Regions from separate parts of the Homo sapiens genome. Here region 1 is linked to region 2. The links are contacts of gene promoters, found by promoter capture Hi-C in blood cells and fetal thymus (Javierre and others, 2016). All regions are on one chromosome and are shown on one strand. Each heading gives the region's core, a stretch centred on a gene start or on the middle of the fragment in contact. The rest is flanking DNA. Distances are from core to core; before and after follow the strand shown.

What was found. The method cuts DNA at HindIII sites, captures the fragments that hold promoters and counts their contacts. A CHiCAGO score of 5 or more calls a contact.
Region 1: a fragment that was not itself captured here is called in contact with the fragment with the promoter of CRYZ in region 2 in 2 of 17 cell types (total CD8 T cells and naive CD8 T cells); the score reaches 5.8 in total CD8 T cells.

The regions. Positions count from the first base shown.
Region 1 is chr1:71,047,494-71,052,973 of GRCh38, forward strand. ZRANB2-AS1 (ZRANB2 antisense RNA 1) reads left to right here. Exons shown (of 3, transcript NR_038420.1): 1 at 1-96; 2 at 1,321-1,495. It overlaps PTGER3 (prostaglandin E receptor 3), which reads right to left and starts at 323. Exons shown (of 4, transcript NM_198719.2): 1 at 1-323. The coding sequence starts at 84. RefSeq lists an enhancer at 1-320. The HindIII fragment of the contact is 1,803 bases long and covers 2,171-3,973 here.
Region 2 is chr1:74,730,385-74,736,056 of GRCh38, forward strand. It overlaps CRYZ (crystallin zeta), which reads right to left and starts at 2,666. Exons shown (of 9, transcript NM_001889.4): 1 at 2,572-2,666. TYW3 (tRNA-yW synthesizing protein 3 homolog) reads left to right here and starts at 2,768. Exons shown (of 6, transcript NM_138467.3): 1 at 2,768-3,034. The coding sequence starts at 2,861. RefSeq lists enhancers at 1,463-1,752, 2,348-3,058, 2,613-2,902, 3,283-3,382. The HindIII fragment of the contact is 10,326 bases long and covers 1-5,672 here.

The DNA.
Region 1 (5,480 bases), core at 1,822-4,321, 3.7 Mb before region 2:
CTCGGGCGCCCACATGCCTGTGTAGGAGTGGTTGAGGCGGGTGCAGAAGGGGGCATCCCCTCCGTAGCCCCGGGTCTCCTTCATGTTGGCTTCGAGGTGAGGAGGGGATGGCGTCCAGAGAGCCGCAGCGGGAGGGGGCAGACGCGGCGCGGGCGGCGGCGGAGGTCGGCGTTTACCGCGGCTGGGGCTGGGCTGCCCCCCATGGTGCGGGGCGCAGCCGCCGCCCTACTCCGCTGCTGGGACCGCGGCCGCGGCGGCGCCAGGGCTCACTGGCCCGGGAGGGAGCCACGCCTTCCTCTCTGGGAAACCTCTGGTGGCGAGGCGCGCGGAGGTGCCGAGTCCCCTTTATAAGGCCGAGGGGGCGGGGCGCCCGTGGGTGTGGACAGAACCGAGGTGGGAGGAGGGTGCAAAGCAACTGAGCGCCTCTCTTGGCTGTTGCCTATCCTGATCGCCTGGGTTGGGAAGCCCCAGACGGTCTCCTCTGAAACGCCCTGCTCCTGGCCGGACCGGGAGCCCACTGGGGTCTCCTCCAGTTCTCCGCTAAAGTGTCGGTGGACGGCAAGCAGCTAATAAGTAGCACTGGACTTGCGGACCCCAGGCAAACTGCCGAGGCGCACCTGAGCGCTCGTCCTCCTGCTTCTTCAACCACAAACGCTCCTACAGGGACGGGATCCTTCTCCTGAAGTCCTTTAGTAACTCTGGTAAAGTGAAAATCGCCTGTCCTTAAGCAATCCACACAAGCCTTTGCATAGCTGATCGTTAACTTTTTTCCTTTCTGCTTTGTGACTCTAGAGTGATTATAAAAAGGCCAAGGTGTCCTGTCCCCTGGGGTGCCGCTGAAAACTATAAAATTACTAGACAGTGCCTGTAGACTTAAGGGAATAGACACAGGGAAACAAATACATCGGATGGTTGAATTCCAAGACCAAGAAATCCCAACTACTACCCCTCGCCTAATCCTGCCCGCTCCCCTCCCCACCACCCAACAAAAAGGTCAGCTATGGCAAAAGTGGCTACAGGAAGGTGGCATCAATTTGCATATCTGAGGTAGTGAAATCAACTGCTCCCAGCCTATGGGAGTGAGAGGGGAGCAGAAGAGAAAGGTATTCCTTACAAAGCCTCCAACCATCCTTCTTATCTTCATACAATAAGAACTAGAAAAGGTATTCAGATGTTATGAAGGCCTTAATCTATATGGAAACTTTGCCTTTGAAATAATAAACATTGAATGAAAATAGGCATACTTGCTTGCCTCGTAACATCTTTCAGTAAGCCAATATTTTATGTACTTCTCACAAGCATTTTCTCATTTTATCACAGAAATCCTCCAAGGTACTATTGCTATTATTATTTCCCTTAAAGGTGGGGTAACTGAGGCCCCATGAAGTTAAAGAATGTTCCTGAAGTCTCTCAGCAATTCTCAAGTCCCATCTTATTTGAAGCATGTATTCCTGACATGGGTCCCATAACTGCTCTCAGCAGATGAATATTAACGGTGAGATCATCTTCCCCTAATCTTGGGAAAGTCTTGTGTTTTTTGCTTTTTGCCTTTTTACACTGTCTAAGAGATGAAAAGATTTTTAAAAATAATTGCAAAGTTCATTTTTCCTCATATTTAAGAAATTAGACTTAATCATATAGCACTCTAAAGACCATTATTTTGATTGACACAGATCAACTTTCAGAACAAGCCCAATCAGTTTTGCCTTTCCTAGCTTAGCTGATGTTCTGTATGGGTGTTCTTAACTTTTAAATTACTGTTAAGAGGTAAGAATGGGATATGTCCCTCTGCATACTTTATGTGCTGTTGTCTTGATTCTGTATGAGAGTTTGAAAAAATATCACTATAACATTATATGTTTTTTAAAGAAGGAAAAGCAAGAATGCAACTTAAACTCCATTTTAATAAGATGCATTAATCACAACATGAATTTCATTTTGTGTTTTGCTGTCATTTAAAAATGTTTTGCACTTTTGCGTTTTACTGACTAAAATGTCACGTTTACAATGGGAACAACAGCTAGGAAGGGTGAAATGGTTTGATTCTAAAATCTTCCGTAAACTTTTGTCTTATTATTTTGAATTAATCTCAAACCTGTATTTGGGATAGTATTTTTCTAGCCTAATATCATTTGAAAATAAAATAATATTTGAGGTTATTCTTAGACAAAGCTTTATCCAAAGCATTTGGATGAAAGTGGCTATCAAGTTTATACCATCTATAGTTAGTAAAATTCTAGTGTAATTCAATATTTAAAATTTAAGACCATATCACCATTCACACAGCAAAGGAAGCAAGGCTTATCTTTTTCCAGTTACATCAAAAACTATTCTCATTTTTATTCACAAATATTTGACTTCTTTGAAACTTTTACTTCTCCCACTGAAGTGCTTGCTGTAGCCAATTGGACTTGATAAGCATGGTAAGCGTCGGGGCATGTATTAGTAAAGAATTGTTAGCCTCTCACTAACCTCTATGCCAATGAACAAAATGTGTTGCATTTCAGATAATTTGGGTATTTCTCTTCTTTCAGCACTTTGCTTCATCCTATATTGTCTGCCTTTAGCTATTCACCTTGTAAACAAGTGACTGTGAGGTTTTGTGGAGTAACAGTGTGAAGCTGGCAGTTGGATTCTGGTTGGTACTTTCTGGTCAGTTACTACGGATATAGTGTGAATTGTGTTGGTCTGAAACAACACCACCCTCTAGTGACCAAAAGGCTAATAACATGCTTTATGCTGTTTTAAAGAGAATTTCCATAGGGCCAATGGATGCTTTGCTTAGGGAATCTCTGATTTCTTTCCTAGAGATCTACTTATCAGTACATAATTGTGGTCACTTTGTTTTCCTTTGAGGTTACAAATTGGCAACTTTGTTTAACAGTCAATAAACCAGTAGAGGATTAAACTGAAAGACCAGATATTCATTTTTTTTTAATTTAAAGTATATATTCACCTATTATGTTTTCAATGAAATTCTAACCTGGACATGTTTTAAATTCACAGATTACTTAATTGTACCCTACAGCTTAAAATGTATAATGTATGTCAATATTTAGCTAGTGATGATGAATTTATTTTGCTATTTACTTCTATTAAACATCTATTTAAAAATCTTAAATATGGATACAAAATAAGATTAATAATGAGTCACATGATCAGCCTTTGATTGCCTCACTATGGATGGAAAATATCTGAAAGTCTTTCTTCATGGAGCCAACCAGTAATTTTAGTTTATATTTTAGTCATTCATTCATTCAATAACCATTCATTGAGCACCCAATCTATGTCAGACACTGTTTCAGTCATTAGGGATACAAAAGCAATACATAACAGTGCCTATATTCATGGGGTTTATATTTTAGTGCAAAATTACTGATTCTAAGTGCCAAATAACAGGAGAAACACTGATCCCATGGCTTTTGTCTTCTCAGAATGATTGTCATGGAAGTACAGTGCAATGTAGACTTAACATTTAAACATCAATCAATGTAATTACTGTATCAAAATAAAAGCAATGCCTAGAAGTCTTTGCTAGATCAAAGAGTCCCTTTCTATGAATGCCTTTTCTGCTGTCTTTTCTTCCTATTCTTTACATGCCTGTTTTTTTTAATTGAAAACTGGACATTGTAATATATTGTAATGACTCTGGAGTCTACCGGGTTTTTTTCCCTGAGTATTATCTATTTTATGTTTGTTTGCTCTGTTTGACAGTTAACTTGTCCGGATTCAAACTGCCAATATTGCCTCCCATGGGGCATGCTGCTCTTGGTATCTCTGCTTCATTCTCATGGTTTTCCATGCTCTTTTAGCTTGGCTTCCTAGAGATTGATTTCCCTATGCCTGTGTAATTTGCTGGTCAGTTAGCAATGGAGATCACCTTCTGTGTGGGTTCCTTGATTCTAGGGATTCTCCTCTTATTTGCAGCTACTCTGCCAGCTTAGGGCTATTCCCTGACATTTAAAGTTTCTGAAGCTTCAGCTTTCTCCCACCCAAAGTACACACAGCACAGGGAGGAATACATCCCCTTAAGTAAAGCATCAAAGTAATCAAAGTAGATGTATTCTTGAATAATGGTTTTTGTGTGTGTTTTGTTTTTTTTTTTTTTTTTTTTTTTTTTTAGACGGAGTCTCACTCTGTCATCCAGGTTGGATGCAGTGGTGCAATCTTGGCTCACTGCAAGCGCCGCTTCCCAGATTCTCGCCATTCTCCTGCCTCAGCCTCCCAAGTAGCTGGGACTACAGGCGCCCACCACCACGCCTGGCTAATTTTTTGTATTTTTAGTAGAGACAGGGTTTCACCATGTTAGCCAGGATGGTCTCGATTTCCTAACATCATGATCCTCCCACTTTGACCTCCCAAAGTGCTGGGACTAGATTTCTATCTGGTCTTTGCTTGCTTTTTCCTCAGGCTTCATGTGGTCTCCTTCACTCATGCAGAGTTTGCTGTGAGACATGAATTTGGGTAGTTCTATCTCATTTCTTCTCTGGTTCTCATTACCAAGATTTCCTACTTAAATTTGCAGTGGCTTTTCAAGCCTTAACTCCAGTCTCTGGAACTTTTTGCCAGTAAGGCTATGATTTTTTTTTTTCTACCAGTATTTCCCATAGCCATAGTCATGAAGAATGGGCAGGATCCTCGATCCCAAAAACCAGTAAGTCATAATTTTTACTCCTTTCATTTGCAGGTCTTTTTTTCTCTTCTATGATTTCTGTATGCTTTTGAATGCCTTCCAATGCAATAGTTTAATAAAATTCAAATACTTGTTTTTACAAATTTAACTATATTTTACTATTGTTATATGCAGGGCAGCGTGATACTGGCATAAAGATAGGCATGCTATGGTTTGAATGTGTCTTCTCCAAAATTCGTGTTGAAACTTAATGGCTACTATGATGGTATTAAGAGGTGACGCCTTTAAGAGGTGGTTGGGCTATGAGGACATCTCTTGAGGGAATGGGATTAGCTGCTCTTACAAAAGGGCTTGACAGAGGGAGTTTGGTCCCTTTCTTGTCATCCTGACATGTGAGGACAGGGCAAGAAGGCCTTCACCAGAGACCAGATGATGGCGCCTTGCTTTTGAACATCCCCAACATCCAAAACATTGAGAAATAAATTTATATTCTTTATAAATTACCCAGATGTAGTACTGTTATAGTAGCACAAAACAAACTAAGACACTGATCTATAGATCAATGAAAGAGAGTATTATAGAGAGCATCATATATACACATATAGAGATATAGATATGTGTACACATATGCAGACATTCAACAGATTTTTGTCAAAAGTGTTAAGGTGATTCAGGAGAACAGTCTTTTTAACAAGTGGTGCTGGAAAAACTAGATAGCTGTATGGATATAAAAATGAACATAGACCTTACACCACAAAACAAAATAGATAATAGACTTAAATGTACCTGTTAAAACTATAAACCTCTGAGATTAAAAGAGGATTTTTCCTTGTGACATCTTTTCTCC
Region 2 (5,672 bases), core at 1,416-3,915:
TCCACGGGATCATCATATGCTTCATAACGATGAAGCCTGTCAAAGGAGATTACACAAAGAATAAAATAACGTGGCATACTGATGGCAAATAGGATAATACTTAAAATCCTGTAATACCGGATTTCTTCTAAAAAGCATAAGTCTTCCACCTCCATTGACTTAACTGTTTTCAGAACAGGTAGAGAAGTTATTTAAACTATTATTTTATGCAGAAGTAAAAATAAAATCGCCATCCATTTTATGGATGAGAAAACATCACAAGAGGTTAAGAGACTTGGTCAGGGTCACACAGAAGCAAAGCTAGAACCCAAGTCCTGTAATTAAATGGTGTTAGCTGATTTTTTTCTTTACCATCCTTTTCATCTCACCCTTTGAGATGCTGGCATATAAGACCCTTTACTTCGTAGAAATAAACTTTACAATAGTGATAGTGAGACAGATTGAGCTAGAAAATGTGAAATCAAACTAACCTGCAGGTAGAATCGCATATTTTATGACTAAGGCATCTGCTTAGAGTTTGAAATTTCTCAAATGCCCACTAAGTCAGGGAATGCAGCAGAAATACAAAGGACATGATTCTATTTTTAAAAATGTATAAAAAAAAATTACTCCCTAGCATCGGATCCTTGTGAACAGGACAGGCCTTTCCATTGCTTGTGCTTTTTAATTAAACTATACTTCAAATAGGCCTTCCTGTTTATCAAATATAAACTTTTAAAAATTAAGAGTCCCTTGGTTTAATTTTTGGTTTAATTTTACCTCTGAAAGGTTGCCAATATGCCTTACAAATCTAGGAAATAGAAAATCTAAAATCCCTCTTCCAACAGTGATCTTTTTCCTGGCTATGCTTGTATCCATTTGATTTAAACGAAAATTAAAGGAATTGGGAAAATGTTAGGAGTATATTTTAACATAGGATGAACAGATCAAGTCACAAAGCCAGAGCAAAGGAACATTATGAGACAAGAGCAAAAGTAAAATTAAATAAGAATTCTGGCAAGAATTTTAAAAACTGAAAACTTAGAAAAAAAATCAATCATTACAAATTGTTCTGCTGCTAATACACAATGACTCATGTAAGCATATGGTTTATTATTAACCCAGAAATGTAAAAAAGGCAAGAATTACAAGTGGTCAGAGAAAGTCTCTTCCTGGCTGTGTGATCTTATCAGGTCACTTCTGTTCACTTGAGATAGGACGGGGTAAGAAGAGGGGAGGAGTTTAATAATTTCGGACTCCTCCAGGTTCCATGATCGTATGGAACAGGGCAGTCTGTTCCCTAATGCTGGAGGAGTAGAGCTTGGAGAGATTTGCTGCTGAACTCGCTGCGCTAACCAGACACGTAATCACAGTGGCTTCAGAGGGACTCGCACAACAATTTCCATTAGCTACGGACAAGCATTCCAAACTTTAGCCTTTAGGTTTAATCATTGACACACCTTCCCTGGTCACTGAGTCTCCTCTAGAAACTCAGTATAAACATCCAACGATGTGTTAACAGGGTGTTTTGTAATTTTCTTTTGAAGATTATTCTAGGTGGTGGGCGTCACAGGGTCAATAAAACTATACATTTCTCTCAAAGACTGCAATCCTGATGGCAAAGCTGGAGGAAGCTCCGGGAAACCTGTAATTGTGGGAATCCAAGACAAAAAATCCCCCACAGCTGGGCTGTGGGAAGGGGCCCTACCTAGGAGAAGAAATCAAATCCCCTACAGCTGGGCTGTGCGAAGGGGCACTACCTAGGAGAAGAAATCCCCTACAGCTGGGCTGTGGGAAGGAGCCCTACCTAGGAGAAATCCCCTACAGCTGACAGGTGGGCTGTGGGAAGGGGCCCTACCTAGGAGAAGAAATCAAATCCCCTACAGCTGGGCTGTGCGAAGGGGCACTACCTAGGAGAAGAAATCCCCCACAGCTGGGCTGTGGGAAGGAGCCCTACCTAGGAGAAATCCCCTACAGCTGACAGGTGGGCTGTGGGAAGGGGCCCTACCTAGGAGAAGAAATCAAATCCCTACAGCTGGGCTGTGCGAAGGGGCCCTACCTAGGAGAAGAAATCCCCTACAGCTGGGCTGTGGGAAGGGGCCCTACCTAGGACAAATCCTCTACAGCTGAGAGCTGGGCTGTGGGAAGGGGCCCTGGACAGACCGCTGGGCGCTGCTGCAGGAATCCCCAAACCCAGGCACTGGCTGCAGGGAAAAATCAAGCGGGTGACTGGCGGGGGGGGGGGGGGGGGGTGCAGCGTGGGGCTGGGGGACAGGGAGTGCGGGGGGCGGAGGCTGGGCAGGGGTAGTGCCAACGGACACCTCATGGTGTGGTAGCCTAAACTCAGAGCCTAAACGCAGGACCAGGGCTAGGAGCCCAGGACCAGAAGGCAAAACTTCCTACCTGATTTATGGATGGGAACTTGCAGCCCCTGGAGGGGAATGGCTTCGGTCTGGAGCTCTACGCACTAGTTCTCTGGGAGGACAGAGGGCAGGAAAGGGGTGCAGCCAAAATCAAACTCGGTTCCACTTGGACGAGCAGTGGGGAGATTCGCTGTCTAAACAACTAAGGAGAGTTTTTAAAACCACTTACCAGAATCTAGAGTGGGAATTAAAATCTGCGTGGGCTTCTTCAGATTCCACAGAAATGAGGACTGCCACACCTTCTCCAACTTTTGCAGGCTCCACCCAGGATGTGCGCCTCGCTCCACCCAGGATGTGCGCCTCTCTCCACCCCTAGGCGAAGGCACTAGAATTTCCCAAATTAAGAACGAAGAGGAAGTTTGGACCTTTTCGGCCACCGCTCGCTTCAATATGGCTGCCCCCAGGGAGAGACGAGGCTACCATGAAGGAGCCGAGCGCAGACCCTGAGTCCGTCACCCATGGATCGCAGCGCGGAGTTCAGGAAATGGAAGGCGCAATGTTTGAGCAAAGCGGACCTCAGCCGGAAGGGCAGTGTTGACGAGGATGTGGTAGAGCTTGTGCAGTTTCTGAACATGCGAGATCAGTTTTTCACCACCAGCTCCTGCGCTGGCCGCATCCTACTCCTTGACCGGGTGAGGCCCCTTTGCGCCTGTCCATCGCCTGCCTTCTAGTGCGAAACTTCAGGAGCCCTGTTCCCATCCAGTGACGACCGGATCCAGCATGTCTGTGTTTGCTCCTCTGAGGGGTGGTCTCTGTTTCTTTATATGTGAAATTTAGGGGATTAGATCAGTGCTTCTAAAAGTTTAACGTGGCTATTAATCAGCTGAGCATCTTTTAAAATACAGATCCCGATTCTTTAAGTGTAGGGTAGGGCCTGATACTGTGCATTTCTAACAAGTGCCCAAATGATGTTGAAACTGCTGACCTGGGAACTATCTTGTGTGGCAAAGTTTAGAAAATTTGATTTTATTATATGAATACTAAGGGAATCTAAAGACTTTGTAGCTTGCTAAGGTATTGAATGCCGGAATCCGCTCATCAACAGCTCTGGCAAATCATTGTTACTGCATGCTTGAACATCACCAGTGTTAAGGAGTTTACTGCCTCCTAGTGAGCCCCTCCATTATTACAACTCTAGTAGTTTTACGCAGAGAAAAGTACGATCGTATATAATTTAGGATGGTTAGACTTTTTTTTTTAACTTTATGATGGGTTTACAGGGGTAGTAAATGCATTTTGACTTACATTTTCCACTTATGACGGATTTATTGGGATGTAACCCCATCATAAATCAAGAAGCAGCTGTACAAGCCATACCTCCTTATTTGCAGGTTCAGTTACCCCAGTCAACAGCAGTCTGAAAATATTAAATGAAAATTCCAGAAATAAACAATTAGTAAGTTTTAAATTGCATGCTGTTCTGAGTAGCGTGATAAAATCTTGAGCCAACCAGCTCCTTCCAGAATGGAAGGTGAATCATCCCTTTGTCCAGAATATTCCACTATATATTCTTGCTGCCCTTTAGCTGCTTGGTAGCCTTCTGGGTTATCAGATCGACTGTGGTGGTATCACAGTGCTTGTGTTCAAGTAACTCTTATTTTACTTAATAATGGCCCCAAAGTACGGGAGTAATGATGCTGGCGATTTGGATCTGCCAACAGTAAGTTTTAAAGTGCTTTTTTGAAGTGAAAAGGTGAAAGTTCTTAAGGAAAGACTTAAGGAAAGAAAAAACAGCATATGCTGAGGTTGCTAAGATCTACGGAAAGAATGAATCTTGTCAGTGAAATTGTGAAGTGAAGAAGGAAAAAGAAATTGATCTGAGGTTTCAGGCATCCACTAGGGGGTCTTGGGACATATCCCCTGAGGATAAGGCTGCTTGGGAGTGATACTGCTTAGATTAAAAACCACGGGCTATGTGACCTTAGGAAAGCTATCTCAACTCTGCCCCTTCCTGTTCTATGAACTGAGGATAATAAAAAGTATCTGCTTTATAGGGATTTTGTGTGGAGAAAATAGGATAATTTTTTTTGAAATATTTGGCTTTGTGCCTGGCCCATGCACTGTAAAAGTTGGCTGTGTACTGATTTTATTCGTAGTATTGGCTTAAGAGCATGGAAGACAGCACATTGTTAGGCTCATTCTTTAGGTCCATTATTGACTGATCATTTATTTGCTGATCTCTCAAGTTAGCAGGGCCTGTTCATTTTTAAATCACTTCCATCACCTTCAGAGCAATGGCATTCTTGCCCACAAACTCTCTCTTGCCCCATTTCCATAACTCTGTCTCGCCTTGATTTTTGCAATGGTTCTCTAACAAGCCACTTAACTATTCTTCTCCAAACCATGTTTGACAAATTGCAACTCTGCTTATCTCTCACCTATGCTATGTTTTATTACACATTTTTCTACATCAGAAAATCCAAATGCTTACTCTAGTATACCTTTCAACCTTTTTTTCATTGCTTTTCTTCATCTTTAGCTAGTTACTGAAACTAAACTGTTCTTTTCATCTTGTATTTACTTGCTTTTGCTCATGTTTTTTGGCGGTTTTTTTCCTGAAATGTTTTCCTATCTCTGCATATCTGAGACATGATTCCCAAAACTCCCCTCTCCCACCTGAACCCACAAACACATACTACCTACTTGGAAGTAATGACTGCTTCTGTACTGGTTAGACTTTTATTTCTTATCTTACACCTCGTATTATGGTTTATTTTAAAATCTGCCTTATTTCAGTAAGGATTTGGGGCAACTTACAAACAGGCAACACAAGAAAAAATAAAAAGTGGGAAAATCTGGATAAAGAAAATATAGATAAGATGAAGCCAGCGATGGCATTAGTTGCCAATCCCACCACTAGATCCTGTAAAGTTGCTAGAAGTGGGCCATACATTTGGCTCTAAGATTCAGAGTAGCCAGCACAATGTCAGATACGTAAGTCACCATCACCGAAGTCATACAATGAAGTCAAAATATTTATTTAGGACATGCATAGCAATTCCCGGTTCCAAGGGCAGACAGCAGAGTCTCTTGTGGATCCATCGTATAAATTATAGTTACTTTGAGTATAGTGATTTCTGTTCATGTGGTTTCCTGCATCCCCTTTCCAGTGTCCTTGAGGGGTAGGTTCTGTGTATACCCAAAGTACCTAATAGAACTTTGCAAATAAACATTTGTTCAATTTAAGTTAATATTAAAATGTTTGCCTTCATGAAACTTTGACCTTTCAGTCTTAGCTCCATCCTTCAGGACTACATCTAAAGTCTAATT